2 separate regions of the Homo sapiens genome follow, and region 2 is linked to region 1. Evidence: promoter capture Hi-C in 16 types of primary human blood cells and fetal thymus (Javierre and others, 2016). All regions are on one chromosome and are shown on one strand. Each heading gives the region's core, a stretch centred on a gene start or on the middle of the fragment in contact. The rest is flanking DNA. Distances are from core to core; before and after follow the strand shown.

Region 1 (2,741 bases), core at 65-2,564:
TCCCAAAATGCTGGGATTACAGGCGTGAGCCACCGTGCCTGGCCACCCTTTATCTTCTTTTCTTTTTGAGACAGGATCTTGCTCTGTCGCTCAGCCTGGAGTGTGGTGATGCAGTCATAGCTCACTGCACTCTTGAATCCCTGTGCTCAAGCCATCCTCCCACCTCAGCCTCTACTACAGGCATGCACCACTACACCCAGCTATTTTTTTATTTTTTGTAGCAACGGGGTCTCACCATGATACCCAGGCTGGTCTTAAACCCCTGGCCTTGTGATCCTCCCACCTTGGCCTCTCAAAATGCTGGAATTACAGGTGTGAGCCACCATACCTGGCCCCCTTCATCTTTTTTCCACTGCCTTGTGCCAACCCAGTTTGTGCACTGGGGCCTTGCGATCCTCTCAAAGCTGATTCAGCCTGCATTCCTTTCCCAGATGGACACGTGTGTGATAAACAGCTCTGCAGTGGGGTGAGGGAAGGCAGGGGCAGCAGGGTCCTGTATGTCCTGCCATCTCCACAAAAGGGCAGTCCTTACCCCAGCCTTGTGCTGATGAGACCAGGCATAGACAGTCCTGACGACACAGGGCGGAAGGGAGCAGCCATTAGTGCTAATGAGGCAGGCGGCCTGAAAGCTTTGTACTCTGCAGTGGCTCGCCCACCCAGGGAACAGTTCGTTCTGTTTCCTTGGCTTCCAGGAACCCTAGGCAGAAAGGGGTTTGGGGACAGGAGCAGGAGTGGGCGGTCTTGGAGAAACCTGGAGGGAGAAAGGGAGGGGAGGACCAGAAATGTAGTCAGGAGGGCCTAGGATTGGTTAGGTGGGCTTTTCCTTCCCCTTTCCCTCCAAAGAAACCCAGGTTCTGGTTCTGCACCTACCCCTGCCCAACAGTGGCCATTGGCCCATCACCCGCTCCAATGTCCTTGACCCGAATTCTTGGAAGCACAGGAAACAACATGCCACATAGGGGTTGAGTAAGCATCTCTGGGGCCACAAATTAAATTAAGCTTTCAGGGCCGCCTGCCTTGTTATTGCTAATGGTTCTAGCCCTGCTCAGCTCCTAGGTCCCTGTCCTGTGGAAATTTGTGGACCCTGGGCACCCTCTCTTGCTCCCAAATTTTAATCGGCTCCTGGAAACCTCACCCCAAATTGGAGATAGGCACTCCTCTTGTAGAACAAAAGGCTCAGGTTCAGGGAGTGAGGGCCTGAACTGTGCCCCCACCCTCCAGGAAGGGTCCTTCACGGCCTGGCTGCAGGGATCAGTCACGTGTGGCCCTTCATTAGGCCCTGCCATATAAGCCAAGGGCACGGGGTGGCCGGGAACTCTCTAGGCAAGAATCCCGGAGGCAGAGGTGAGTCCTCAGGTTGGGCAGGGACTCCTCCTCTCTGTGGGGTCTCTATCTGGGCACCTAGAGGGGACTCCAAGGATAAGGAGGGACTAAGTGGTACATCTTCCTGCTGAGCCAGGCCATGCTGACCGCAGCGGTGCTGAGCTGTGCCCTGCTGCTGGCACTGCCTGCCACGCGAGGAGCCCAGATGGGCTTGGCCCCCATGGAGGGCATCAGAAGGCCTGACCAGGCCCTGCTCCCAGAGCTCCCAGGTCAGTGTGAGCAAGGGTGGGACTGGGCGGGGCCTGAATACCCTCTGGCCACAAATAGTCTCCCCTGGCATAAACCCTCTTTCTCCCTTCCCAAACCCTCCCCTGGGAGGTGGGTGCTTTGTGCATGGGGGTTCCTGCCCTCACATCCTCTGCCCCAGGCCTGGGCCTGCGGGCCCCACTGAAGAAGACAACTGCAGAACAGGCAGAAGAGGATCTGTTGCAGGAGGCTCAGGCCTTGGCAGAGGTAACTGCTCAGGGAAAAGGGTAAGGTGGTGGCCCTTGGGAGGGGGCATTGGGTATTAGCTCCTCTCCCCAGCTCCAAACTCCCTCACCAGCGACGACACTACCGACCACCCCTTCCCATGCTCCACTGCCATCCTGCACAGGTTGGGACAGGTAAGATCCCTGGATCTGTCTTTAGAGGCCTGTGCTGGTTCCCCACCCCTGCAGGTACTAGACCTGCAGGACCGCGAGCCCCGCTCCTCACGTCGCTGCGTAAGGCTGCATGAGTCCTGCCTGGGACAGCAGGTGCCTTGCTGTGACCCATGTGCCACGTGCTACTGCCGCTTCTTCAATGCCTTCTGCTACTGCCGCAAGCTGGGTACTGCCATGAATCCCTGCAGCCGCACCTAGCTGGCCAACGTCAGGGTCGGGGCTAGGGTAGGGGCAAGGAAACTCGAATAAAGGATGGGACCAACCCCAAGGCTGTGGTTATTTCAAACGTGGCCGTCAAAGGAGGGAGGGTTCATGGAGGGGGTGGGAGTGTCACCAAGCCAAGAAACCACACATACTCTTATCCCAGGGCCTGGGCTACCCTATCATAGGAGGCACATACACGGGCGCTTTTAGGGGTCCTGGTGCCCCTGGGAAAAATAGAGAAGAGCCGCACTCCAGCTTTCGAAAATCTTGTACAGCAAGTGCGGGGAACGCAGGACGCAGCGTGGCACAGGGGCTATCACTCCTGGCTAACAAATAAGCCTTAGGCTCCAGGGCTTGCTGCTACTTCCACGCAAAGCCTGCCCCTCATCCTGTTACCAGAGGGAAGGCCAGGAGTGTGCGTTGTTCAGGTCCTTAGCGTTTCGAACAAAGAATTGAACAAAACCCAGAAAGTAACAAACGAATGACACACAGGAAGGAAGCAGACAGCTG
Region 2 (2,741 bases), core at 242-2,741, 440 kb before region 1:
TGATTGGGGAAAAGTCAAAGGGCAAGGGAGACAGTGAAGGCCAGGTCCTATCCCTTCCCAACTCCACCAGAGCAGCTGCCCACCAAGAGGGGTATCAGTGCCAGGCCAGGCTCCCAGTTCAGGGGGAGTCACAGCCCCCTGTGCTACCTCTACTCTGTCACACCTGGCCCAGGCCCATGGTGAGGACAGGGGCTGCTGAAGGCACAGAGAAAGGGCTGGAGCCAGACATTCTTCACCTACTGTGGGCCACATAGGCCTATCTCCAGAGAGGGCATCGGACCCAGATGGCACCACAGTGTGTGGCCAGGCTGGGTCGTGCTGCATGTGTGCACAGCCAGGCGGCTCAGCCATTGTATTGCTGCTGGTAGCGCAGGTTGAGCTCCCGCAGCTCCCGTTCCCGCACACGGCGTGACTTATTGGAGCGTGTGGAGCGGCTGGAACGCGTGGACTGGGCAGATTTGGTGCTCTGGCAGCGCGAGGAGGCACGTTTAAGGAGGTTCTGGGATATGGAGCGGTGCAGGTTCTTCATGGATGAAGAGGCAGCCATGCTCACCACCCACGGGTGCCTCAGGGCCTGCAGTGCAGTCATACGGGCTCCAGGGTCCACTGTCAGCAGGCGGTCAATGAAGTCCTTGGCCAGGTTGGACACACTAGGCCAGGGCTAGAGACCAAGGACAAGCATTAGAGTGAGAGCATCTGACACTGCCCACCCCATCTGGATGAGGCCACTACTCAGCAACCCTCCCCTTTCCAGAGAGAGGTGCTGCCCCTCCTCTCATGTAGCACTTGGGGCCTCCCCGCCCAACGCTGGCTCAGGCTGAACAAGGGCTGCTCTCCAGGTGATGGAGTCTGGCAAGGAAGGAAAGGACCTGTGCACTCTCCCAGGGAGCAAATTCTATGGTGCACTGGACCCAAAGCCTGGCTCAGGGAGATGGCCTCTGCCAAGACCCCCCCGAACTTGTCCCAGGAGTATCATAACTCAGGGGACTGTTAGAGAATGATTCAAACTTTCCCACCACATCCTAAGTCAGATTGAAGCTCCAATCTCTGGATGACCAGGATCAGGCTACTTAAAGGGGAACTTCCTAGTCCTTACAGAGAAGATCCAACCTCTCTCCAACTGCCGAAGCAGTGGCAGAAGACCACTGCTCCCTGCCTCTGCCTCCCGGCATGGGGAGGAAAGGAAACAATTCAAGGCAACTAGATTTCCCAGTCGGCTGAGGGCAGGCGATCCCGGGACCAGGAAGGAACCAGGACCCTTCTCAGTGGCACCCTCTGGCCCGCATTACTTCTCTAAGCCACAAAGGGCTCCTGGCAGTGCTGTGCGCCAGCCTCATTTTAGTACATTCTGTCCCCTGGGAGGAACTCCATAAAGCCCACTCTGCCACATGCACCCCGGGCTGCCTCATCTCAGCCCCGAACCCAGCAGCTGTCTGTCTCAGGGCCTCAGGTTGTACGGCTGTCTTCACCTGACTGGATCCTCAGGTTCTCAGGGTAAAGGACACTTGCTCAGACTCCCTCTTAGCCCCCAGTGCTTCCAGCAATTATTCCAGCTGTAACGTGAGACTGCAATTTCATGTTCGTTTAGTATTCCCATGAGATCATGCTGAGCTGGATGAGCCCGTGCCTGGTGCTGCGCATACAGGAAGCACTCAGTAGGCACAGGCTCAGACAGTAAACAACCCACGGTGCTGCCGGATGGGTGCCCTTTCCTGGAGCTGCTTCCAGGCCTTGGGGCTCAGCCAGGTGAGTCCTTGCGTCCCTGCATCTCCTAGGAACACTTCTGGCACGGGCTCTGAGGCTCCCCCAAGGATAGGCAGCTAGGACCTTTCCTGAGCCTGCTGCAGATGACTCAACAGGGATGCTAACGATCCCCTCACTTTCCTTCCTGCCAGGTGAGGTCTGCCTGTTCCACCCATGGTACCCTTCACCACCCATGGTACCCTTCACCTTGAGGAACCCCTGAACATGCCCTCCAGGGGGTTCAGGAGGATCTGAGAGACCACCTTCAGGGCAGGTGCACAGCCATCTAGCAGACACACACACTCACTGACTACTGCTACTCCCAGTCTGGCTCGCCTGACCTCCAACTCTTTCCCTACCCCCTTCCCCACTGCCACAGAGGGATGAGGCAGGGAGAACACGCTTCCACCGTCCTGAGGAAGGCCTGGGGCTACCTGCAGCTGCTGTCTTCACCCACTCTTTGGAAGGTTATTCCAAGTTTTACTGAGCTGAAGTGGGAGCAACAGGGGAACCATATTCCCAAACACACCTAACAGGGTCATCCTCATCAGTGGGCCAGCAGCACCCAGTGACTCCTGGGGAGATGCTGGCCCCCAGGAGGAGGAAAGTCAGGGTCCAGGAGCATGCAGCCAACGAAGGCCCATAGATGCCTTACTATCCAAGGGCTGTGGGTGGGCGCAGAGAGCAACAGCCCTCCCCGACAGGCAGGTAAGTCTCCTGGGGGCTTGTGTAGTTCAAGATTCATATTGAGGGCCAGGCGTGGTGGCTCATGCCTGTAATCCCAGCACTTTGGGAGGCTGAGGCAGGTGGATCACAAGGTCATGAGATCAAGACCATCCTGGCCAACATGGTGAAACCCCGTCTCTACTAAAAATACAAAAATTAGTCGGGCGTGGTGGCGTGCCTGTAGTCCCAGCTACTCAGGAAGCTGAGGCAGGAGAATTGCTTGAACCTGAGAGGCGGAGGTTGCAGTGAGCCAAGATCGCACCACTGCACTC

What was found. Contacts are between HindIII fragments. The CHiCAGO score rates a contact against its expected background, and 5 or more counts as called.
Region 2: a fragment that was not itself captured here is called in contact with the fragment with the promoter of AGRP in region 1 in 4 of 17 cell types (fetal thymus, naive B cells, activated CD4 T cells and 1 more); the score reaches 6.8 in fetal thymus.

Annotation. Positions count from the first base shown.
Region 1 is chr16:67,482,120-67,484,860 of GRCh38, reverse strand. AGRP (agouti related neuropeptide) reads left to right here and starts at 1,314. Exons shown (of 4, transcript NM_001138.2): 1 at 1,314-1,344; 2 at 1,460-1,592; 3 at 1,751-1,836; 4 at 2,043-2,290. The coding sequence starts at 1,463. The coding sequence ends at 2,225. ATP6V0D1-DT (ATP6V0D1 divergent transcript) reads right to left here. Exons shown (of 4, transcript NR_184227.1): 2 at 533-751. The HindIII fragment of the contact is 2,406 bases long and covers 1,002-2,741 here.
Region 2 is chr16:67,925,245-67,927,985 of GRCh38, reverse strand. It overlaps PSKH1 (protein serine kinase H1), which reads right to left. Exons shown (of 3, transcript NM_006742.3): 3 at 1-661. The coding sequence ends at 344. Among named protein-coding and RNA genes, the nearest start is that of CTRL, 5.2 kb to the left of the region's middle. RefSeq lists an enhancer at 513-1,014. The HindIII fragment of the contact is 3,315 bases long and covers 1-2,741 here.